5 separate regions of the Homo sapiens genome follow, and regions 1, 2, 4 and 5 are each linked to region 3. The links are contacts of gene promoters, found by promoter capture Hi-C in blood cells and fetal thymus (Javierre and others, 2016). All regions are on one chromosome and are shown on one strand. Each heading gives the region's core, a stretch centred on a gene start or on the middle of the fragment in contact. The rest is flanking DNA. Distances are from core to core; before and after follow the strand shown. Region 1 overlaps BDP1 (BDP1 general transcription factor IIIB subunit). Region 2 overlaps BDP1 (BDP1 general transcription factor IIIB subunit). Region 3 holds the start of CENPH (centromere protein H). Region 4 overlaps MCCC2 (methylcrotonyl-CoA carboxylase subunit 2). Region 5 overlaps MCCC2 (methylcrotonyl-CoA carboxylase subunit 2).

What was found. The method cuts DNA at HindIII sites, captures the fragments that hold promoters and counts their contacts. A CHiCAGO score of 5 or more calls a contact.
Region 1: a fragment that was not itself captured here is called in contact with the fragment with the promoter of CENPH in region 3 in 2 of 17 cell types (activated CD4 T cells and total CD4 T cells); the score reaches 5.9 in activated CD4 T cells.
Region 2: a contact is called between a fragment that was not itself captured here and the fragment with the promoter of CENPH in region 3, in 7 of 17 cell types (total CD4 T cells, activated CD4 T cells, total CD8 T cells and 4 more). The highest score is 8.7, in total CD4 T cells.
Region 4: a fragment that was not itself captured here is called in contact with the fragment with the promoter of CENPH in region 3 in 10 of 17 cell types (total CD4 T cells, non-activated CD4 T cells, naive CD4 T cells and 7 more); the score reaches 21.3 in total CD4 T cells.
Region 5: a fragment that was not itself captured here is called in contact with the fragment with the promoter of CENPH in region 3 in 1 of 17 cell types (non-activated CD4 T cells); the score reaches 5.9 in non-activated CD4 T cells.

The regions. Positions count from the first base shown.
Region 1 is chr5:71,523,637-71,528,430 of GRCh38, forward strand. It overlaps BDP1 (BDP1 general transcription factor IIIB subunit), which reads left to right. Exons shown (of 39, transcript NM_018429.3): 25 at 303-687. Among named protein-coding and RNA genes, the nearest start is that of MCCC2, 61 kb to the right of the region's middle. The HindIII fragment of the contact is 8,080 bases long and covers 1-4,794 here.
Region 2 is chr5:71,498,624-71,503,514 of GRCh38, forward strand. It overlaps BDP1 (BDP1 general transcription factor IIIB subunit), which reads left to right. Exons shown (of 39, transcript NM_018429.3): 14 at 2,939-3,030; 15 at 3,976-4,168. Among named protein-coding and RNA genes, the nearest start is that of BDP1, 45 kb to the left of the region's middle. The HindIII fragment of the contact is 3,916 bases long and covers 311-4,226 here.
Region 3 is chr5:69,188,212-69,192,684 of GRCh38, forward strand. It overlaps CENPH (centromere protein H), which reads left to right and starts at 1,372. Exons shown (of 9, transcript NM_022909.4): 1 at 1,372-1,557; 2 at 3,584-3,639. The coding sequence starts at 1,424. It overlaps LOC112267932 (a long non-coding RNA gene), which reads right to left and starts at 1,266. Exons shown (of 2, transcript XR_002956215.2): 1 at 780-1,266. RefSeq lists enhancers at 984-1,223, 1,151-1,445 and a silencer at 1,304-1,423. The HindIII fragment of the contact is 12,435 bases long and covers 1-1,946 here.
Region 4 is chr5:71,590,520-71,595,445 of GRCh38, forward strand. It overlaps MCCC2 (methylcrotonyl-CoA carboxylase subunit 2), which reads left to right. Exons shown (of 17, transcript NM_022132.5): 2 at 2,407-2,473. Among named protein-coding and RNA genes, the nearest start is that of MCCC2, 5.6 kb to the left of the region's middle. The HindIII fragment of the contact is 540 bases long and covers 2,020-2,559 here.
Region 5 is chr5:71,611,701-71,616,727 of GRCh38, forward strand. All of the region lies in intron 6 of MCCC2 (methylcrotonyl-CoA carboxylase subunit 2), which reads left to right. Among named protein-coding and RNA genes, the nearest start is that of MCCC2, 27 kb to the left of the region's middle. The HindIII fragment of the contact is 1,271 bases long and covers 1,971-3,241 here.

The sequences.
Region 1 (4,794 bases), core at 760-3,259, 2.3 Mb after region 3:
TTCTTCTAATAATTTTCAGTTTTGTGTTTATTTTATCTTCACTTTCATATTACAGGAAAGAATGGTCCAGAATTAAAAACTTACTATGAAAAATTTGTAGGTAGATAACTAAGAATTAACTCTGAGTGAGAAACTAGTAGTTAATTCCTTTTTTATTTTCACAGCATAAGATTTTAAAAGAATGGGTGGTGGGAATTTTCATTTTAATGACTGGAACTGGAATTTCACTCTAAAAGTTTGGTTTTCATTAAAATTATCCTTGCATGCATATGACCTTATTGTTGTTTTGATTAAATATCTAGCTGTCCACAACCGTTAAACGAAACAAGTTACTCTAAAATTGCCCTGGATGGGAAAACAACTATCTCTTCTACATCTGAGTATGAGAGAAATCGTGGTGAAAGGAGAAGTCATAAAAAGTTCAAACCAAATGTCACCAGAGGTCGTGGATCAAAACGAGTTCGGGGTAAGACCTCTAAGAAGGAACCTAGAGCTTCCAAGGCCATGCTGGTGACTCTTCGGGCTTCCCAGGAAGAAGATGATGATGCTGACGATTTTGAGTCTGACTATGAGGAAGAAAGCTATCATCTTGCTCCCGAAGAAGTAAACAAAGCTCCAGTATTTGTACCTGTTGGTCTCAGATCTCCTGAACCTGTTTCTGCTCAGATTGAGGAAACAATGGAAGAGGTTCGGTTTTTTTTTAAAACCTTGGTACTTTATCTTACTTGGTTTTCACCTCTTGTTTCTTTTAGGGGATCATTATTTCTTCTCGTAGTGATTATTAGGATTTGAAGAGTTCATTCTCTAAATAACCTCTACCAAATATAATTTGGGGCCTTGTATAACCTTTTGTGATTGCTCAGTCCCTATGGCCCAGGCCCAGCAAGGGAGTCAGTGTAACAACGAGAGAAATCTGCTTACACTTGTACCTGGAAGCTGTTTAGTCTACTTTCTGATAATCTTTCTTTTTTTTTATTTTTTATTTTTTATTTATTTATTTTTTATTTATTTTTTTTTATTGATCATTCTTGGGTGTTTCTCGCAGAGGGGGATTTGGCAGGGTCATAGGACAATAGTGGAGGGAAGGTCAGCAGATAAACAAGTGAACAAAGGTCTCTGGTTTTCCTAGGCAGAGGACCCTGCGGCCTTCCGCAGTGTTTGTGTCCCTGGGTACTTGAGATTAGGGAGTGGCGATGACTCTTAACGAGCATGCTGCCTTCAAGCATCTGTTTAACAAAGCACATCTTGCACCACCCTTAATCCATTCAACCCTGAGTGGACACAGCACATGTTTCAGAGAGCACAGGGTTGGGGGTAAGGTCACAGATCAACAGGATCCCAAGGCAGAAGAATTTTTCTTAGTACAGAACAAAATGAAAAGTCTCCCATGTCTACCTCTTTCTACACAGACACGGCAACCATCCGATTTCTCAATCTTTTCCCCACTGTTCCCCCCTTTCTATTCCACAAAACCGCCATTGTCATCATGGCCTGTTCTCAATGAGCTGTTGAGTACACCTCGCAGACGGGGTGGTGGCCGGGCAGAGGGGCTACTCACTTCCCAGCAGGGGCGGCCGGGCAGAGGCGCCCCTCACCTCCCGGATGGGGTGGCTGGCCAGGCGGGGGGCTGACCCCCCCCACCTCCCTCCCGGACGGGGCGGCTGGCCGGGCAGAGGGGCTCCTCACTTCCCAGTAGGGGCGGCCGGGCAGAGGCACCCCTCACCTCCCGGATGGGGCGGCTGGCCGGGCGGGGGGCTGACCCCCCCACCTCCCTCCCGGACGGGGCGGCTGGCCGGGCGGGGGGCTGACACCCCCCACCTCCCTCCCGGACGGGGCGGCTGGCCGGGCGGGGGGCTGACACCCCTACCTCCCTCCCGGACGGGGCGGCTGGCCGGGCGGGGGGCTGACCTCCCCACCTCCCTCCCGGATGGGGCGGCTGGCCGGGCGGGGGGCTGACCCCCCAACCTCCTTCCCGGACGGGGCGGCTGGCCGGGCGGGGGGCTGACCCCCCCACCTCCCTTCCGGACGGGGTGGCTGGCCGGGCGGGGGGCTGACCCCCCACCTCCCTTCCGGACGGGGCGGCTGGCCAGGCGGGGGGCTGACCCCCACCTCCCTCCCGGACGGGGTGGCTGTTGGGCAGAGACGCTCCTCACTTCCCAGACGGGGTGGCTGCTGGGCGGAGGGGCTCCTCACTTCTCAGACGGTGTGGCTGCCGGGCGGAGGGGCTGCTCACTTCTCAGATGGGGCGGTTGCCAGGCAGAGGGTCTCCTCACTTCTCAGACGGGGCGGCCGGGCAGAGACACTCCTCACTTTCCAGACTGGGCAGCCAGGCTGAGAGGCTCCTCACATCCCAGACGATGGGCGGCCAGGCAGAGACGCTCCTCACTTCCCAGACGGGGTGGCGGCCGGGCAGAGGCTGCAATCTCGGCACTTTGGGGGGCCAAGGCAGGCAGCTGGGAGGTGGGGGTTGTAGCGAGCCGAGATCACGCCACTGCACTCCAGCCTGGGCACCATTGAGCACTGAGTGAACGCAACTCCGTCTGCCATCCCGGCACCTCGGGAGGCCGAGGCTGGCGGATCACTCGCGGTTAGGAGCTGGAGACCAGCCCAGCCAACCTCTGATTAATCTTTCAAACATTTTGGTGTTTTCTGGTTGATAGAGAAGCTAGAAGGGACATACTTTTTTTTTTTTGATTTGGACCAGGCATGGTGGCTCACGCCTATAATCCCAGCACTTTGGGAGGCCGAGGTGGGTGGATCATCTGAGGTCAGGAGTTTGAGACTAGCCTGACCAACAAGGTGAAACCCTGTCTCTACTAAAATACAAAAATTAGCTGGGCGTGGTGTCAGGTGCCTGTAGTCCCAGCTACTGGGGAAGCTGAGACAGGAGAATTGCTTGAACCCGGGAAGCGGAGGTTGCAGTGAGCTGAGATCGTGCCACTGCACTCCAGCCTGGGAGACAGAGCGAGACTCTATCTCAAAAAAAAAAAAAAAAAAAAAGAAGAGTGCTAAAATACATGTAACATAAAATTTACTATCTCTCTCTCTGTTTTTTTTTTTTTTTTTTTAAAGACGGGGTCTCAGTCTGTCACCCAGTCTGGAGTGCAGTGGTGGGATCTTGGCTCATTGCAACCTCCACCTCCCAGGTTTAAGTGATTATCCTGCCTCAGCCTCCTGTAGCTGGGACTACAGGTGTGCACCACCAAGCCTGATTAATTTTTGTATTTTTGGTAGAGGCAGGGTTTTACCATGTTGGCCAGGGTGGTTTTGAACTCTTGACCTCAAGCAATCCACCTGCCTCGGCCTCCCAAAGTGCTGGGATTACAGGCGTGAGCCACCATGCCCAGCCATCTTACTCATTTTTAAGTGTACACTTCAGTGGCATTAAGAACATTCACATGTACGTGTTGTCATGCTACCATCACTACCATCCATCCACAGAACTCTTTTTTAAAATTAATTAATTTAGAGATGGGGTTTCGCTATGTTGCACAGTCTGGTCTCAAACTCCTGAGCTCAGGCAATCCTCCTGCCTCGGCCTCCCAAAGTGCGGGGATTACAGGCACGAGCTACTGCGTTCTTTTTTAAGATGATTAAGACATCCCGCAATGAGTGGTTGTCCCCTAGCCTGGCAAAAAACCAAGATACAAGATACAAACACCCAACACCTGTCCCTTGAGCCCCATCTCTATGCCGTCTGGCCTGGTCACTCTCAGGTCTGCCTTGCACCCCTGGCGAACTCTTTTTATTTTGTTAAAACTGAAATTCTATACCCATTAAACAGTAACTCTCCATTCCTCCCACCCCCTAACCTTTTGGCAACCACTTTTCTACATCTTGTCTCTTTAATTTGACTCCTCATGTAAGTGGAATCATACAGTATTTTTTTGTGTGACCATTTTATTTCATTTAGCATAATGTTTTCACAGTTCATCTATGTTGTAGCTTATGTCAGAGTGTTCTTCATTTTCGAGGTTCAATAATATTCCATTGTGTGTGTGTATCATGTTTTGTTTATTCCTTTATCATCAATGGACACTTGGGTTGCTTCCACCTTTTGGCTGTTAGAAATAATGCTGGTATGAACATAGTTGTATAAATACCTCTTTGAATCTCTGCTTTTACTTTTTGCGGGATATACCCAGAAGTGGAATTGCTGGATCGTATGGTAATTCTTTTAATTCTTTTTTTTTTTTTTTGAGATGGAGTCTCTGTTGCCTAGGCTGGAGTAGAGTACAGTGGCGCAATCTTGGCTCACTGTAACCTCCATCTCCCAGGTTCAAGCAATTCTTCTGCCTCAGCCTCCCAAGAAGCTGGGATTACAGGCACCTGCCACCACACCCAGCTAATTTTTTTGTATTTTTAGTAGAGGTGGGGTTTCACCATGTTGGCCAGGCTGGTCTCAAACTCCTGACCTCAAATGATCCATCTGCCTGGGCCTCCCAAAGTGCTGGGATTACAGGTGTGAGCCACTGCACCCGGCCTCGATCTTATGTTAATTCTATACTTAACTTTTCAAGCAACCTTTATACTGTTTTTCATAGGGCTGTTATCATTTTACATCCCTATCAACAGTGTACAAGCATTGCAGTTTCGCTACATCCTCACCAGTCGTAGCTATGTTGTAACTTTGGCTAGTAATCATCCTAAGGGTTGTGAACTAGAGAAACGTGTTGAACATATTTAGCTTCCTTACACTTTTGCCTGTTAGTCTGCCATTCCAACTTTGTAACTTCAAAGTTTTCTGTTCTGCCTTAATTTTCAGTCACTTCTTTGGCTTACTGAGGAGCATAT
Region 2 (4,891 bases), core at 1,019-3,518, 2.3 Mb after region 3:
TTGTTGGCCAGGCTGGTCTCGAACTCCTGACCTCATGTGATCCACCTGCCTCAGCCTCCCAAAGTGCTGGGATTACAGGCGTGAGCCACCACGCCTGCCGTCTTTTTTTTTTTTTTTTGACATAGGATCTCGCCCAGTCGCCCAGGCTGGAGTGCAATGGCATGATCCTGGCTCACTGCAGCCTCTGTCTCCCAGGTTCAAGCTATTCTTGTGCCTCAGCCTCCTAAGTAGCTGGGATTGCAGGCATGCACCACCACGCCCAGCTAATTTTTGTATTTTCAGTTGAGACGAGGTTTTGTCATGTTGGCCAAGCTTGTCTTGAATTCCTGACCTCAAGTGATCCGTGTGCGTTGGCCTCTCAGAATGCTGGGATTACAGGCATGAGGGCACCATGCCTGGCCAATAACTTTATCTATGTATGCACACATTTCTATAATTTTTAACCATAATGTGTATAATGTTTAAAACCTTTTTCTTTTCTTTGTTTTGTTTTTGAGACGGAGTCTCGCCCTGTCGCCCAGGCTGTGGTGCGATGGCGTGATCTCGGCTCACCGCAACCTCTGCCTCCTGGGTTCAAGAGATTCTCCTGCCTCAGCCTTCCAAGTAGCTGAGATTACAGGCGCGCGCCTCTATGCCCAGCCAATTTTTGTATTTTTAGTAGAGACTAGGTTTCACCATATTGAGCCACCGTGCCCTGCCAAAACCTTTTTCAGCTGACCACGGTGGCACACACCTGTAATCCCAGCACTTTGTGAGGCCAAGGCTGGTGGCTTACTTTAGGCCAGGAGTTTGAAACCAGCCTGGCCAACATGGCGAAATCCCATCTCTACTAAAAATACAAAAAAATTAGCTGGGCATTGTGACACATGCTTGTAATCCCAACTACTCGGGAGTTTGAGGCAAAAGAACCACTTGTACCCGGAAGGGAAGAGGTTGCATTGAGCCAAGATTGCACCACTGCACTCCAGCCTGGGCAACAGAGCGAAACTCTGTCTCAAAAAAATAAAAAATTAAAAAAAAACCCTTTTCCTCTGAAACTATTAATTTACATTTTTTTGGGTCCAATTGATCTTTTTAATAGCTGTGTCATGTTAACATGTTATTGATTTACCTAATCAGTTCTCTACTAATGGATGTTCAGATTGTTTCTATTTTTGTTTGTTTTTTTAACTCTTGTACATTAGAAGCAAACAATTTTGTAAGTAAGGCTTTCTCAAGGAAACAAAGTATAAATTTCTAGAGACGGGTGGGATCGTTGGGTCAAATAATGTTTTAAATATTTTTGTGATTCTTGTTATGCATTGTCTTTTGTTATTTGTTATTTTTATTACTTTAAAAAATTTTCTGGTATGTCTGAGTCTCCTGAATTGTTATGCATTGTGAAACTGACAGTCATAAATAATCTATTTACATTGCTAAATGAATCTTTCTGTTTCCTTATAACTTTTCCAGAATTCTATTGTTACCATTTTTTTTAAACTAAAACACTTTTTAAGATGTTGGTTTGCTTCTTTTCCTGTTTTGTGAAATATCTTTTATCATAATCTTTATAGTACAGTTACATTATTCTAATCTTATGTTTATTGAATTGTAGAAAATTTGGAAAATACAGATTCATGTAAAAGTTAAAACAAAAATTACTTGTAATTTTTTTCTTTACCTTTTTTTCTTTGAAGTGTTGTAATCTTGTTTCTTTTTTTTTTTTTTTTTTTTTTTTTTGAGGTTTAGTTTCACTCTTGTTGCCCCAGCTGGAGTGCATGGTGTGATTTCGGCTCACAGCAACCTCCGCCTCCTGGGTTCAGGCGATTCCCCTGCCCTCAGCCTCCTGAGTGGCTGGGATTACAGGCATGCGCCACCATGCCCGGCTAATTTTTTGTATATTTAATAGAAACGGGGTTTCACCATGTTAGCCAGGCTGCTCTCGAACTTCTGACCTCAGGTGGTCCACCTGCCTCAGCCTCCGAAAGTGCTGGGATTACAGGCGTGAGCCACCATGCCCAGCCATTCCTTCTAATACTTGTAATTTCATTATTCCCTTGCAACCAATCTTTTCACATATCTCCTTACAGATTTTCTTTTACACAACTGAATCATGGTTTCAATACAGTTTTGTATCCTTTGGTAATTAACATTTCAGAAATATTTTTCTGAAATATTTAGTGTGATTCCATTTTTCTTAAAAAAAAAAAATGTACATCAGGTGTGGTGGCTCACACCTGTAAGCCCAGCCCTTTGGGAGGCTGAGGCGGGCTAATCACCTGAGCCCAGGAATTTGAAACAAGCCTGGGCAACATGGCAAGATCTGGTCTCTACAAAAAATGAAAAAATTAGCTGGGCATAGTGTGCACCTGTAGTCCCAGCTACTCAGGAGGCTGAGGTGGGAGGATCACCTGAGCCTTGGGGGTCAAGGCTGCAGTGAGCTATGATCATGTCACTGTACTCTAGCCTGGGCGACAGAGCATGACCCTGTCTCAAAAAAAAAAAAAAAATTCTCATCTGCATTTAGGATTTTTAGAAAATCTCCTCTAGTTAGAAGTACAAAAAATGAAGTTCTTATTTATTCATTTATTGAGATGGAGTCTCACTCTGTCACCCAGGCTGGAGTATAGTGGTGTGACCTCGGCTCACTGCAACCTCTACCTTTTGCGTTCAAAGAATTCTCCTGCCTTAGCCTCCCAAGTAACTGGGACTACAGGCACACGCTGCCATGCCTGGCTAATTTTTTGTATTTTAGTAGAGACAGTTTCACCATGTTCCCCAGGCTGGTCTTGAACTCCTGAGCTCAGGCAATCCGCCTGCCTTGGCCTCCCAAAGTGCTAGGATTACAGGCTTGAGCCACCGTGCCCGGCCAGTTCTGTTGTTTTAATTTCCATTTGTTTATTACAAAGTTTGAACTGTTTATTGTAAGTAGATAAATTGTAGCAAATTAAATTCACAGAACCACGTGGAAAAAGATAAAATGAATACATTGGACATTTTGAGAATGGAGACTACAGAGAGAGAGAATCCAGAAGCTGAAACTGTATCTGTGTGAGTATTCAGGAAGTAGTAAAAAAAAAAAAAAAAAAAAGTAACTCTTAGGAATGATGGTAATAATTTGTTTTCTACTTAATAAGGTCTGAATTTAATTTTCAAGCAGCATACTTTAAGTTCGTTTTCAACCATAGGTGGTTTTGAAACATTCATAATACTCTCTCTGCTTGATATTGCTTATATAAATTTTATGAGTCTATTGAGTTAGCCATTACATTTGAATGTTTACAGTATATGCCCCTGGATAATTTTATTTATACTAAGAGATTTTAAAAGGGAATATTTAACTTGAAATAGAAATCTAAAATAGAATGTGAATCTGACTGGTGGATTCTGGGCTCTTCCAGGGGTTACCATTTATACTATGATTTGGGACTAATCCCCTGGAGTTCTACATTATTCTATAGTATCCTTAGTCAGGAGTAGTATTCTATGCTTGGCAGATGTAGATTTTTCCAATTTTGTAATAAAATTCTATTTAAAAGTGCTTTTTCAAGAGGGCTTCCAGGATTATGTCTTTTTTTTTCTCTCTCTTTTTTTTTTTTTTTGAGATGGAATCTCGCTCTGTCACGTAGTGGTGCAGTCTCTGCTCACTGCAACCTCTGCCTCCCGGTTTCAAGCGATTCTTCTGCCTCAGCCTCCCAAGTAGCTGATATTGCAGGCGCCCACCACCACACCTGGCTAATTTTTGTATTTTTAGTAGAGACAGGTTTAACCATGTCGGCCAGGCTGGTCTCGAACTTCTGACCTCAAATGATTCGCCCGCCTCGGCCTCCCAAAGTGCTGGGATTACAGGTGCGAGCCACTGCGCCCGGGCGGATTATGTCTTTTCAGGAAACTTGTGAATTATTTCATATTCCAAATGGTTTACTTATTCATGCCAGGGAGAAGGAAATTGGTGACTTCAAAATAAACATTAATTTTATTTCTTTGTGGTTCTAGTTTGGGTGAAAAAAATTGTCTGCAGGAAGGGAGTCAACTAAAGGCTTTAAGACCTGTACAAGTGAGGGGCCGATTGCAAAAGCCAAAGCCAAATGCAGGTAAAGCTGCTGAAAGAAAAGAAATTCTCATATCACAGGAAGAAATTGGGGCCAATGTAGAGAAGAATGAAAATGAATCCTGTGCTGATAGAGATGTAAGTACTCTGATTCCTCCTCACATTTTTGGTAAGCAAGTACATGAGCCTTAATATAAGCTTCCCTTCACCCACATACTTACATACATACATACATACATTTATTTATTTATTTATGACGGAGTCTTGCTCTGTCGCCCAGGCTGGAATGCAGTGTCGCGATCTTGCCTCACTGCAACCTCTGCCACCCAGGTTCAAGTGATTCTCCTGCCTCAGCCACCTGAGATCGTGCCACCGCACTCCAGCCTAGGCGACAGAGCAAGACTCTGTCTCAAAAAAAAAAAAAAAAAATTCACATGATCTATAATGTTTTTGTATTTTTAGTTGTGCGACTGCAGGCTCACACCACCACGCCTGGCTAATTTTTGTATTTTTAGTAGAGACAGTGTTTTGCCATATTGGCCAGGCTGGTCTCAAACTCCTGACCTCAGGTGATCCACCCGCCTTGGCCTCCCAAAGTGCTAGGATTACAGGCATGAGCCACTGTGCCCAACCCCTTTACCCCCTTTTCAAAACAGTACTGCACAATTTGTGTGCATCATTTATTACATTTTTGGTCAAAATCTCATAGCCAGCAGCTTTGCTAGTTGTAAAGCCATTTTAGATTTTGGGCATTTACATGATAGATAATCTGTTTCACCTGACCTCATATTTGGAGTTGCTTTTCCGTATCACTTAGTGGATGTTTGAATTAATCTTTTGTTTTGAAGAAATAAGTACATA
Region 3 (4,473 bases), core at 122-2,621:
TACAGGTGCCCACCACCACGCCTGGCTAATTTTGTATTTTTAGTAGAGACGAGGTTTCTCCATGTTGGTCAGGCTGGTCTCCAACTCCTGACCTCGAGATCCTCCCCCCTCGGCTTCCCAAAGTGCTGGGATTATAGGTGTGAGCCACAGCGCCCGGCTTTTTTTTTTTTTTTTGAGACGGAGTTTCACTCTGTCACCCAGGCTGAAGTGCAGTGGCGCGATCTCAGCTCACTGCAACCTCCGCCCCCCCGGGTTCAAACGATTCTCCTGCCTCAGCCTCCTGAGTAGCTGGGATTACAGGCGCCCGCCACCACACGCAGCTAACTTTTGTATTTTTAGTAGAGACGGGGTTTCACCATGTTGGCCAGGCTGGTCTTGAATTCCTGACTTCAGGTGATCCACCCGCCTCAGCCCCCAAAGTGCTGGGAGTACAGGGGTGAGCCACCACGCCCAGCGAATTTAACTTTTGTCAGGAGCCGTATTACATTGACAATGGAGAGGAAGAAAACAGCACAGTATGATCAAGTTTAACTAGTGGGTAATTAGCTGTAAAAGAACTCTCGACTCTTGTTCAAAGAGGTTCAAGCTGCTGTGCTTGTGCGGCAAGGACAGTGTCCAAATGAAAAACTACAAATCAGTCATCTGTCCTTCATTTTCTCCATTCCCCCCACTCACTACACAGCTAAGAAAGCTCAAAGGTACCCTGCAGACACTCAAAACTTGAGGGCACGCAACTCTCAGTTACGAGTGGTGGCAATCATAATGACAGAATGAAGTACCAGTGCAAGAAACTGGAAGCGTGTGGATGTCTCCAGGCTGGAAGTCTGGGTTCGAAATGTCTGCAATGCCTCGCACTTGTGGCCCGTCCCTGATCTTCAGAAGCCACTGGTTTCTCCGCCAAACAAAGGGTATGCACCTCATGGGCTCAGGTCAAAAAAGTCTTCTAAACAACCCTCTAATGTTTATCTTTCACAGCCTGCCGGGCACACCCATCTTCAAAGGCAGAGGACGGAAAAGTGCCAAGATGGATGGACATATGGCTGTCGCCGCACTCCCGTGTCCAAGCGCCAAGGCCGAATGACCACTTAGGTCAGGAGATTTTTCCCCTCCAGGCTGCTGTTCCCGGGAGATGTCCCAACGTCTCTAGTCCAGCCCCTAACTCAGCACTCTACACATCCGACGCTTAACGAAAGCTATTCCAACTTTTTACCAGCCGTCTGCAGTTATTTTCACCAGTAGAGCCCGGATGAAAGAGGAGCCCGTAGTAACCACGGCAACCGAAAAACAAGGCGGAAAGGGTGGGGCCCTGGGCGGAAGGGGCGGGGCCCTCGGGCCTTTTCCCGGCGTCCATTTAGTGGCGGGAAAAGCGACCTTTTCTGAGCGCGTTTGCCTGTTGAGTGGTAGCCTTTCCCCTCAACCAGCAATGGAGGAGCAGCCCCAGATGCAAGACGCCGACGAGCCCGCGGACTCCGGAGGGGAAGGCCGGGCAGGCGGGCCACCGCAGGTCGCCGGCGCCCAGGCGGCGTGCAGCGAGGACCGCATGACCCTGCTCCTCAGGTTGTTCCCTTTGGCCTCCTCAGCCGGGGCCAAGTGGGCGTTGTGGCCCGGAACTCCGCCCTTGCTCAGAAGGGCTAGGGTTCGAATTCACGCTCGGTCACGTCAGGTCTCCGTGATTGCCTCATTCACTTAAACTGTTGAAGCTCTTTCTTCATCAGCGAAAAGGAGAGAAAAATGACCCCCTGGAGAGAGGTTACAAGGGTTAAATGAGATAGTCTAGGAAAGTGTTGAGCACAGTGCCCCGGGCCCTTAGAAGCTGTAATTTCTCCTCCTGTTTCCCCGCCCTCCCCCTACCTCTCTGGTTTACAGACAAATTGAATGCCAGAGCTAAACTGGAAGGAAGGTGCCCCTACCATTTCTTTTAGAACTACGACCCTTTGTAACCCAGAAGCTTTATATGTTATAAATTCTACTAAGCGGACGGTGTTTATACTTTTCCACTAAGCGGTTGCTGGGGAAGATTCGATGAGAAGGGACATTCGTCTTCTAAACTAGTGAGCAGGAGAAGGTCCTGGGCCAAATCTGCCTAACTGCCTATTTTTGTGTGACCACTCAAGCTAAGAATAGTTTTTATGTTTAAGTGTTGCAGGGAAAAGATCATAAAAATATTTCATAACACGTGAACTCTATTAGAAATTCAAGTTTCAGTTTCCATAAACAGTTTTATTGGAGTACAACTTTCCTGCCACAAGGGTGGAATTGAGTAGCTAAAACAGAGACCGTGTGACTCACAAACCCTAAAAAATTTACTATCAGGTCCTTTACAGAAAAAAATTTGCGGTCCTCTGTTCTATATCATAACAGAGGTAGTTTTAAAAAAATCATTATTGGCTGAGCGCGGTGGCTCACGCCTGTAATCCCAACACTTTGGGATGCCGAGGCAGACGGATCACCTTAAGTCAGGAGTTCAAGACCAGCCTGGCCAACCATGGCCAACATGGTGAAACCCCGTCTCTACTAAAAATACAAAAATTAGCTGGGCGTGGTGGCGGGCGCCTGTAATCCCAGCTACTCAGGAGGCTGAGGCAAGAGAATTGATTGAACCCGGGAGGCAGAGGTTGCAGTGAGCAGAAGATTGTGCCATTGCACTCCAGCCTGGGCAATAGAGCAAGACTCTTGACTCAAAAAAAAAAAATTAATTACCATTTTTTTCTTTCTTAAATGTTTTGAAAAATGAAAAGATGTCTATTTCTTTTTTATTGTTTTTTCCTCCTCACCCTTGCTGTCATCTTAAATTACCATTTGCTCATAGTTTTTCTACTTATGTATGATTTTTGGATTTATAGAACAACTGAAAAACTATATGAATTAGTAATCCAAGGATTAGTATCTTTGTTATTTTTCTGTATCTCCTGATAAAAATCTGTGTTTGTAAATACAGTGGTTTGGGGTTTAATCATTTTGGTCTATTCTTTGTATAGCATCCTCAGTTCAGTCTGGCCTATTAAAAATAATCTTAAGCGGCCGGGTGCGGTGGCTCACGCCTGTAATCCCAGCACTTTGGGAGGCCGAGGCGGGTGGATCACGAGGTCAGGAGATCAAGACCATCCTGGCTAACACGGTGAAACCCCATCTCTACTAAAAATACAAAAAATTAGCCGGGCATGGTGGCAGGCGCCTGTAGTCCCAGCTGCTTGGGAGCCTGAGGCAGGAGAATGGCGTGAACCCGGGAGGCGGAGCTTGTGGTGAGCCGAGATTGCGCCACTGCACTCCAGCCTGGGCAAGAGTGCAAGACTCCGTCTCAAAAAAAGAAAAAAATCTTAAACACCAATTTTTTAACTTTTCCTGACAGATGCTGTTTTCCCAGTGTATTCCATTTTGTGTCTTCCTCTGAGGCCTTAAAGTTCTTTATACCCATTTTAAATAAAATGAGGCCAAATTAGAAGTTTGTAATTAGGAGTTTAATTATTTATATTTATTTTGTTGTATCAGCTTCCGAAAAAGAATGAGTTGGTTCGTCATGTGGTAATGAGTAAAACCTTAATCAATAAATATGTGACTTTATATTCTCTTTATCTGTTTTCAGGCTGAGAGCACAGACAAAACAACAACTCTTAGAATATAAATCAATGGTTGATGCAAGTAAGTATTTTCATTTTCAAATTAGGGTTTTGTTGTTTGTTTGTTTGTTTTTTTGAGACAGGGTCTTGCTATCACCCAGGCTGTAATGTAGTGGCGCAGTCTCTGGTTTACTGCAGCCTCAGCCTCCTGGGCTCCAGCAATCCTCCCACCTCAGCCTCCCAAGTAACTGGGACCACAGGCACATGCTACTGCGCCCGTCTAATTTTCTGTATTTTTTTTGTAGACACAGGGTTTTGCCACCACACCTGGCCTCAAATAAGATTTTGTGAGTTTGATGATTAACAGTACTCGAGTGAAAATAAAATTAACTTTACCAAAAATTGTTTATATATGTTATAGTGTGGCAAAACTGGTAAACATGCAAGATATTTATGAAGTATGCTAAGTGTGCTGAAGGAAACAAAGGCATGATAAGAGGGAGGGGCTTCTTTTCATAGGGATGGCTTCTCTAAGAAGATGATTTTAGAGCTCAGATCCAAATGAGAAGAAAGTTTACGTTCCAATAGTCTTTTTGTTCTCTATATAGCTAGTACCATTTTTAAGGGATTGTGACATCCAAAAACTAGATTTAGTTAACACTGTAGAATTTCTATACCTAGGAGACGACAGATGTAAGGCAGGCCACAGGAAGTTTAGTTGTAGCCTTTGAAAGAAGATGTTTATCTAAAATTGACTATCTGCTCTTTTAGAGGCCAAGACAAGAAGATCACTTGAAGCTAAGAGTTTGAGATTAGCCTGGGAAACAAAGTGAGACCTCGTCCCTACAAAAATAAAAAAAACGTAGCCAGATATGGTGATACATACCTATAGTCCCAGCTGGGACTCACTACAACA
Region 4 (4,926 bases), core at 1,040-3,539, 2.4 Mb after region 3:
GAAAGGATACTTTTGGGCCAGGCATGGTGGCTCAGGCCTGTAATCCTAGCGCTTTGGGAGGCCGAGGCTGGTGGATCACCTGAGGTCAGGAGTTCTAGACCAGCCTGGCCAACATGGTGAAACCCTGTCTCCACTAAAAATAAAAAAATTACCTGGGCATGGTGGCGCACGCCTGTAATCCCAGCTACTTGGGAGTGTGAGGCAGGAGAGTCGCTTGAACCCGGGAGGCGGAGGTTGCAGTGAGCTGAGACTGTGCTACTGCACTCCAGCCTGGGCGACACGGCCAGACTCCGTCTCAAAAAAAAAAAAAAGGATACTTTGTATGATTTCAGTCTTTTAAAATTTATTAAGATTTGTTTTGTGGCCTGACATGTAGTCTATCTTGGAGAATGTTGCCTGTGCACTTGAGAAAAGTTACATACTTTTTTCTGCTGTTGTAGGGTGACAAGTTCTGTATATTGTGTTAGCTCCAACTGGTTCTTTCCCTAATACCATGCTGCTTCCTTGTTTTTTATTTTCTGGATTTTGCAGAGCAAGAGAATGTAGCAGAAATCATGACCCTCAGAGCTCTTGGAGCTGTAGAAAATAGGAAATAATGGAGATATACTGTAGACTGAATATTCATCTAAGTTTGAACAGTTAGGAAGTTGCTTAGTGTTCTGTCAAACAGAAGGAACTAAATAACTAGAGATGCTAATCACATGGGGAGCAAAATGTATTAGTGGGCCAAGTCTGAATTTCAAAGATAATTAGCTAGTTAAGTATTGTTCTAAAGTAATATGCTGACCAAACAAAATTTAAAAATACAGAAGGGTGAAAAGTTAGTCCCTCTACCTCTTTTCTACTTCTCACTGTCAATATTTCCTTGTGTATTACTTAATTTGTGTATATATGCCAGCATAGAGTTTTGTTCTGTTTTTTTTTTTTTTTTTTTGAGATGGAGTTTTGCTCTTGTTGCCCAGGCTGGAGTGCAATGATGCAATCTTGGCTCACTGCAACCTCCGCCTCCCGGGTTCGAGGGATTCTCCTGCCTCAGCCTCCCGAGTAGCTGGGATTACAGGCAAGCACCACCTTGCCTGGCTAATTTTGTATTTTTTAGTAGAGACGAGTTTTCTCCATGTTGGTCAGGCTGGTCTCGAACTCCCGACCGTAGGTGATCTGCCCGCCTCGGCCTCCCAAAGTGCTGAGATTACAGGCGTGAGCCACCACGGCTGGCCGAGTTTTGTTCTTTTTACTAATTTATTTATTTATTTGAAACAGTCTTGCTCTGTCACCCAGGCTGGAGTACAATGGCACGATCCTAGTTCACTGCAGCTTCAAACTCCTGGGCTCAAGAGATCCTTCCACCTTAGTTGGTCAAGTCGCTGGGACACACCACCATGCCCAGATAATTTTTAAATTTTTATTCTTTTTATTTTTATTCTTTTTGTAAAGATGGAAGTCTCCCTATGTTACTCAGGCTGGTCTCAAACTCCTGGGCTTAAGCGATGCTCCTGCCTCCGCCTTCCAAAGCTCTGGGATAACAGACATAAGCCACCACACTCAGCCTGTTCTTTTTAAAACATAAAATAGGATCCTTGGCCAGGTGCGGTGGCTCATGCCTGTAATCCCAGCACTTTGGGAGGCCGAGATGGGCAAATCACTTGAGGTAAGGAGTTTGAGATCAGCCTGGCCAACATGGCGAAACCCGGTCTCTATTAAAAATACAATAATTAGCTGGGCATGGTGGCACACACCTGTAGTCCCAGCTACTTAGGAGGCTGAGGCAGGAGAATCGCTTGATCTCGGGAGGCGGAGGTTGCAGTGAGCCGAGATTGCACCATTGCACTCCAGCCGGGGCAACAAAGGGAGACTCTGTCCCAAAAAATAAAAATACAAAATTAAAAATAAAAATAAGATCCTTTTTCTCCCTCTGGGATTTGTTTTTAAGTGTACTTTGTCAGTAAGCAAGCATTGGTTGGAATCTCAGATAGTGACTGATGGGACAGGAAAAATAAGATGGTATTCTAACCTTCAAAAAGCTTATATTCCTTAAAATAGGAAAACAAATAGAGATCAGTTTAAGTTCAGAAGGTGTTTAAGGAAGAAAGATGTTAAATTGAGTAGGAGTGGCCAGAAGTAGAGTTGAAGATGAGATAAAACATGAATTAGGCTTACAGAGGAGTAAGATATGGAGAGATGGACAAGTGGGGTGGTGAAGAAGAGCTTGAACAAGACAGGCAGGGGTGAATCTTTTCCATACGATCCAGTGGCCCAGCGTGGCTGCCACAGATGGGGTGGCCCAGTGTGGCGGCCACACAGAGTTGGCACAGACCACTGTTTTTTTTTTTTTTTTGACCTTTATTTTGGTAAAAAGGAATTGCTTTCTAATATTTCTCTCCCCTGTCTCCTCTATTTCTGTTTTAGGAGAACTACAAGCAGATGAAAGCACTAGTAAATCAGCTCCATGAACGAGTGGAGCATATAAAACTAGGTAAACACAGCATTTATTCCACAGCTTATGCCTTTACTTAAGATGTCCTAAAATAGTTATTGCTTTTAGGAAAAATACTGGAATTAAGCTTTTGATATTTTTTTTTTTTTTTTGAGATGGAGTCTTGCTCTCTTGCCCAGGCTGGAGTGCAGTGGCGCCATCTCAGCTCACTGCAACCTCCGCCTCCTGGGTTCAAGCCATTCTCCTGCCTCAGCCTCCCAAGTTGTTGGGATTACAGGTGCCTGCCTCCATGCCTGTCTAATTTTTGTATTTTTTAAATAGAGACAAGGTTTCACCATGTTGGCCAGGCTGGTCTTGAACTACTGATGTCAAGTGATCCATCTGCCTTGGCCTCCCAAAGTGCTGCAATTATAGGCGTGAGCCACTACTCCTGGCTGAGCTTTTGACTCTTAAGACTATGCATTTGTTGGTATGCAGGCATTTAATTTTATTTTTCCTATTACTTGGCCAGTTTTTCTCTTCATAGAGTACTACCACTTTTGGGGGGAAAAGTAAAGATTCAAATTCATAAATTTTATGAATAAATAATTTATTTTTAATTTTTATTAATTTTTTTTTTAAGAGATGGGTTCTTGCTCTATTGCCAGGCTGGACTGAACCCCTGGCTCAAGCGATCCTCTCATCTTGGCCTCCCAAAGTGCTGGGATTACAGGTATGAGCCACCACACCTGGCCAGTGATTTCTTAGTAGGCATTTAATATTTCCTCCCTAAGTGCTGAATCTCAGATGGAAAGCATTCTTCATATTTGATAGACTGTTTCAGATAACTTTTATCAACAAGTATATAATACTTAAAATTGTATATAATACTTTTAATGTAAAATTTTACATTTAGGTTAGAGTAGTTTAAATACTGGATCTCAGGAGTATAAAAATAGTGAAGAAGACTGGATTTGGAAAGTATGGTCTAGAATTGCTTATTTACTAGTTTATTTAGAGACAGGGTCTCCTCACTCTGTTGCTCGGGCTGGACTCGAAGTCGGGAGCTCAAGTGATCTTCTTGCCTCAGCCTCCCAAGTAGCTGAGACTGTACCTGTGCCCCTGTACGCAGCTATGGAATTCATACTTTTGAAGCCATTTTAGATCAAGGTGTTGTCTCCAGAAAAAGAATTCAAACTCTTGCTGAAATGAAAGTGTTTTGTTAGGGGTGATAACTCAATTGTTATGCCCATTTTGAGAGTTTGATTTGGTGAACTCACTGTCCCCCTTAGACATTAAGATGGTGGGTTTTGGGGCCAGGCACAGTGGCTCACGCCTGTAATCCCAGCACTTTGGGAGGCCGAGGTGGGCGGATCACATGAAGTCAGGAGTTCGAGACCAGACTGAGCAACATGGTGAAACCCTGTCTCTACTAAAAATACAAAATTAGCTGGGTGTGGTGGCGCATGCTTGTAATCCCACCTACTCGGGAGGCTGAGGCAGGAGAATTGTTTGAACCTGGGAGGCGGAGGTTGCAGTGAGCCAAGATGGTGCCATTGCACTCTAGCCTGGGTAACAGAGCGAAATTCCGTCTCAAAAAAAAAAAAAAAAGAGGTGGGTTTGACTCAATGGAGGGTTGAGGAGTCCTGTGGCATCAGGTGCCTGCTGGGGATGGTGGATGCTGAGGAACCGTGGTGCAGGCTGGTGGCCACAGGAGGGTAGAGGACTGAGCCGGACTCCCTGGGGAAGGAGGTAGGGAGAAGGGGGAAAGGACAAACTTGGCTGTCACAGCTTTGCCAAGAATTAAATGTCAGGGGAGCTTAATTATGTGCTCTGTGAGCCTGCATCAAGGATAACCCTCTTTCTGGTTCTTCCTAATAAAACCAGAATTCACCAGCTGCTCCAAATTGTAAGGCCCCACTCTAGACAGAATTGCTAAAGAGTGATGTTGTCTTAAGTCTCTCTCTTTTTTTTTTTTTTTACTGAGACGGAGTCTTGCTCTGTCACTCAGGCTGGGGTGTAGTGGCGCGATCTCAGTTCACTACAACCTTGGCCCCCCGGGTTCAAGCGATTCTCCCGCCTCAGCCTCCCGAATAGCTGGGACTACAGGCATGCACCACCACACCCAGCTAATTTTTCATATTTTTAGTAGAGATGGGGTTTCACCATGTTGTCCAGGCTGGTCTCAAACTCCTGGCCTCAAGTGATCCACCCACCTCAGCCTCCCAAAGTGCTGGGATTACAGGCATGACCCACCTGTCACTTTGGGAGGTCAAGGCAGGAGAATTGCATGAAGCCAGGTGTTTGAAACCAGCCTGGGCAACAGAGTGAGACCTCATCACAAAAATTTAGCTGGAGTGGTGGCACATGCCTGTAGTCCCAGCTGCTGGGAAGCCTGAGGTGAGAGGATCACTTGAATTTAGGAGTTCAAGGCTGTAGTGAGCCATGCTGGCACCACTGCACTCCAGCCTGGGTGACAGAGTAAGATCTTGTCTCAAAAAAAAAAAAAAAAA
Region 5 (5,027 bases), core at 1,356-3,855, 2.4 Mb after region 3:
TTGCCTCTGAGGTGGGAAGGAAGAGACAGGGATGAGGTAGGAGGTAGATAGGCGCTTCAACTATATCTCAAATACTTTATTCCTTTTTTTTTCTTTTTTTTTTTTTGAGATGGAGTCTTGCTCTGTTGCCCAGGCTGGAGTGCAGTGGTGCTACCTCGGCTCACTGCAAACTTTGCCTCCCGGGTTCACGCTATTCTCCTGCCTCAGCCTCCTGAGTAGCTGGGACTACAGGCGCCCACCACCATGCCCGGCTAATTTTTTGTATTTTTAGTAGAGACAGGGTTTCACCACATTAGCCAGGATGGTCTCGATCTCCTGACCTCGTGATCTGCCGACCTCGTGATCCGCCCGCCTCGGCCTCCCAAAGTGCTGGGATAACAGGCATGAGCCACCGCGCCTGGTCAAATACTTTATTCCTTAAAAAAATGATCTGAAGTAAATTTTGCTTAATGTCAAGGTTTATTAAGATTAGGTATTAGGCTAATGGATGTTTGTTATTCTGTAATTTTTTTTGCATGGTTGGAATATTTATAATACAGATGCTGCTATTGTGTTTTCATTTCTTTATTGGATTTAAGTTTGTCATATTTTTATTAATATTCTGATTAATCTATACTTGCAATTATTATATATCTTTTTGATTTTTCTATCAACATAGTTGGTTGTAATTGTTTATGGTATATTTTACTGTTACACAGTGACCATGCCTACCTATATGCTTTATTTATCTAAATAGAAACTTCGGCTTTGCTTACTTTTGCACAGATGGCCGTTGCATTATCTATATGAAATTCGTATTGTGGTCTCCATTTAATCTGGTATTATATTTTTTTCTTTTAGAGAAACAGGATCTTGCTATGTTGGCCAGGCTGGTCTCAAATTCTTGGCCTCAAGGATCCTTCTGCCTTAGCCTCCCAATGTGCTGGGATTACAGGCCTGAGCCAACATGCTGGGCCTGGTGTTACAATTTTTATAGCTTACCTTTTATTAGTTTCCTAGGGCTGTTGTAACAAATTATCACAAATTGAGTGGCTTAAAGCAACAGCAATTTATGTATTTATTTAGAGATGAATGTCTTGGTATGTTGCTCCAGCTGGTCTTGAACTCCTGGCCTCAGATCATCCTCCTACCTTTGCCTTGTGGGTAGCTGGGATTATAGGTGTGAGCCACAATGCTTGGCTAACAGAAATTTATTCTGTGAAGTTCTGGAAGCCATAACTCTGCAGTCAAGGCAGCAGCGGGGCTGTGCTTCCAGGGGACATTCTGTTCCTTTCCTAGCCTCTTCCAGCTCCTGGTGGCTCCAGGTATTCCCCTGGCTTATGGCTACCTCCCTCCCATGTCTGCCTCCATCTTCACGTGACCTTCTCTGGGTATCTGGGTCTTCTCCTTCTCTATCTTATAAGAACACTTGTCACTGGATTTAGGGACCACCCAGGTAATCCACAAGATTCTTAATTATATCTGCAAAGATTCCTTTTTCAAATGAGACCATCTTTACAGATTCTGGTGATTAGGATATGGCTATATCTTTTTATCTTTTGTTGGGGGAGGCTACTATTTAAGCACTATAGCCCTCTATCATCTAACATGTTCTTTGCTGTGTCTTTCTGCTGCCAGGTGGAGTCTCTATTCCTGTGGAACTTTGAAGTTTAAAGTGCTTTAAAATCAGATCTTTTAAAAATCAAAAGTGTACTTACTTCTTGGAATAAGCAATACCTGCTTATGATAAAAAACTCAAAATGTCTGAAGGGCATTTGACTGAATGACTGTCTTCCTTTTACTTATTTTATTTTTGTTTTTTAAAAAATATTAGGGCTGGGCGTGGTGGCTCATGCCTGTAATCCCAGTACTTTGAGAGGCCAAGGCAGGAGGATTGCCTGAGCCCAGGTGAGACCAGCCTGGGCACACACCTGTGGTCCTAGCTGTTTGGGAGGCTGAAGCAGAAGGATTACTTGAGCCCAGGAGGTTGAAGCTTCAGTGAGCCATGATTGTACCACTGCACTTCAGCCTGAGTGACAGAATGAGACACTGTCTCAAGAAAATATACATATATTTATAATATATAATATATCAGAGAAGGAAGGTGGAGTAAGTACTAGTGTTTTCAGTATGAAGAAAAGTGCTCACACATAGCCGGACATCTTCAGTGCAGATTTCAGGTTTAGGGCTCATATATTCAGGAAGGGGTCAGAAAAGATACTATGGAGACTCAATATATGATAACAGAAATTTCTTTTTAAATTCCAAGAGGTTCATATTATATATCTAATTCATATTATATAGTTCATATTATATATATATGGTTCATATTATGTATAACGTATATAATACACACACACACACACACACATATATCAGTATTTCTTTGAGCTACTTCTCTTAGCCTTTATTTTTTTCTATTTCCCTTAAATAGGAAAGGAGGTTTAGGGTTAAGGTTTGCCTTCTCATATTTTAATGAACCGTATTTTTAAGTTTCCATAGTATCTGTTCTGAGCCTTTCCTGAATATATGAGCCTAAACCTGATATCTGCACTGAAGATGTCAGGCTATGTTTCTCCTCTTCTCAAAACCTAAACCCGTCATTTATGATTTTAATACTAACCTCTCCTTTTTGCTTCATCATTTATTCCCTTTCTCTTACTCTAATTAATTTTCTTGGGCAAGGCACGGTGGTCCACACCTCTAATCCTAGCACTTTGGGAGGCTAAGGTGGGAGATTGCTTGAGGCCAGGAGTTTAAGATCTAACGTGGCCAGCATAGTGAGACCCCATCTCTCTCTCTCTCTTTTTTTTTTTTTTTGAGATGGAGTCCTGCTCTTGTCCCCAGGCTGGAGTGCAGTGGCGTGCAATATTGGCTTACTGCAACCTCCGCCTTCCAGGCTCAAGGGATTCTTCTGCCTCAGCCTCCCGAGTAGCTGGGACTATAGGCACATGCCATCATGCCCAGCTAATTTTTGTATTTTTAGTAGAGACGGGGTTTTACTATGTTGCCCAGGCTGGTCTCGAACTCCTGAGGTCAAGTGATCTGCCCGCATTGGTCTCCCAAAGTGCTGGGATTACAGGTATGAGCCACTGTGCCCAGCCCAGACCCCATCTTTTAAAAATGAAAAAATTTTTTATCTGCTTATTTTTCTTCTCACACCCCAAAATCACGTTGATACCTTTTCTTTAAAGGAAACAAAAAAAGAACACTAAAATGATGCCAAAAGATAAAGACCTTTTCTAGCTTCTGCTGTTTTTGAAGCTTTTCTCCCTACCTGGGTGGCTACATTTTTTTCCCCCTTTGAGATGGAGTCTCACTGTGTCATCCAGGTTGGAGTGCAGTGGCACGATCTCGGCTCACTGCAACCTCCACCTCCTGGGTTCAAGCAATTCTCCTGCCTCAGCCTCCCTAGTAGCAGGGACTACAGGCATGCACCACCATGCCTGACTAACTTTTTTGTATTTTTAATAGAGATGAGGTTTCCATATGTTGGCCAGGCTGGCCTTGAACTCCTGACCTAAGGTGACCCACCCACCTCGACCTCCCAGAGTGCTAGGATTATAGGCGTGAGCCACCGCGCCCAGCCAACATTCTTAAGGATTGGCACATTGTCTTCATTCTAACTGCTCACTCCTTCAAACCTCCATGCCCTACGAGAGTTTCACCAGCCTAGAGACCAGATTCCCACTCTGCACAGCCTCTTGGTATCATCATTTTTTTCCTTTTCGTGAAATTCTCCTTATGCTTCATGCCACTGGGGTGCCCTTATTTATTTATTTATTTTAACGATTTAGCCAGATCTCATTACCTGTCATCTCCCTGATCTTTATCTAGTCTTGACCACCTCTACATCTCTACTTTTGAACCTCGGGGGTTCTGCTTTCTCAGTCAATTTCCTGCTGGTACCTTAGTATGAAATAATAAGAAATATACACATTGATCTCTGTCCCCAGTTCCAGGAACAGAGCTCCTAAAATCCTCATAAGTTTCTGAGCAGTAGGGGCACTAGGAGGCTCTTTTGTTCCAATATTTGGTGTCTGCCCCAGTTCCTCCGACAGAGTTCCTAATACCCTTGTAGATAGGGGTACTAGAAGAATCTTTTGTTCTATGATTTGGTCTTTGACCCCCATTCTTGTCACAGAGCTCCAAAATCCCTTGGAATTTCCTGGGTGATAGGAGCATCTTTTATTCTGATGAGGCGACTCTTAGTGGGCTCCTGGATGGTGCTGGTCACCAGAAAGACCAAGCCATGACCATAAACTTGGAGCTTTCAGTCCCAGCCCTATCCTTCAGGGAGGGAGAGGGGCTGGGGATTGAGTTAATAATTGACCATGCCTCTGTGATGAAGCCTCCATAAAAATCCCTAAATGGTGTTCAGAGAGCATCTGTGCTGGCAAACTCATCCAAGTGCTAGGAAGGTGGTGCATTCCCACTCCGCGGGGACAGAAGCTCCAGCCCTCAGGACCTTTGCAGACTCGCCTTATGTATCTTTTCATCTGGCTGTTCATCTGTATCCTTTATGATATCCTTCCTAACCAGTAAATGTAAGTAAAGTGTTTCCCTGAGTTCTGTGGGCCACTCTTGTAAATTAGTCAAACCCAAGGATGGGTAGTGGCAGCCCTGATTTACAGTCAATCAGAAATATAGGTGACAACCTGCTCCTTGTGGATTGGCATCTGAAGTGAGGGCCATCTTGTAGGACTGAGCCCTTAGTCTGTGGGATCTGATGCTGTCTCTAGGTAGACTGTAAGAACTGAATTGGATTAGAGGACAGCTGGTGTCTGCTGGAGAACTGCTTGGTGTGTGGAGAAATACCCCCACATATCTGGTGTCAGAGGTATTGAGTGACTGTGTCAGACAGTAGGAAAAACACTTTTTCCTCTGTCTTTTCAGACTTAGGTTCAAACTAGACATTGAACACATTAACTTCCCCTACTCATTTGTTCCCTCACCTGAGTTCCCATCTACTGCTAGCACTACCTTGCTCTTTCCCTAGGACTTGATGTCATCCTTGGCTCTTTTCTCTGCATTTTCCCTTACTTAAT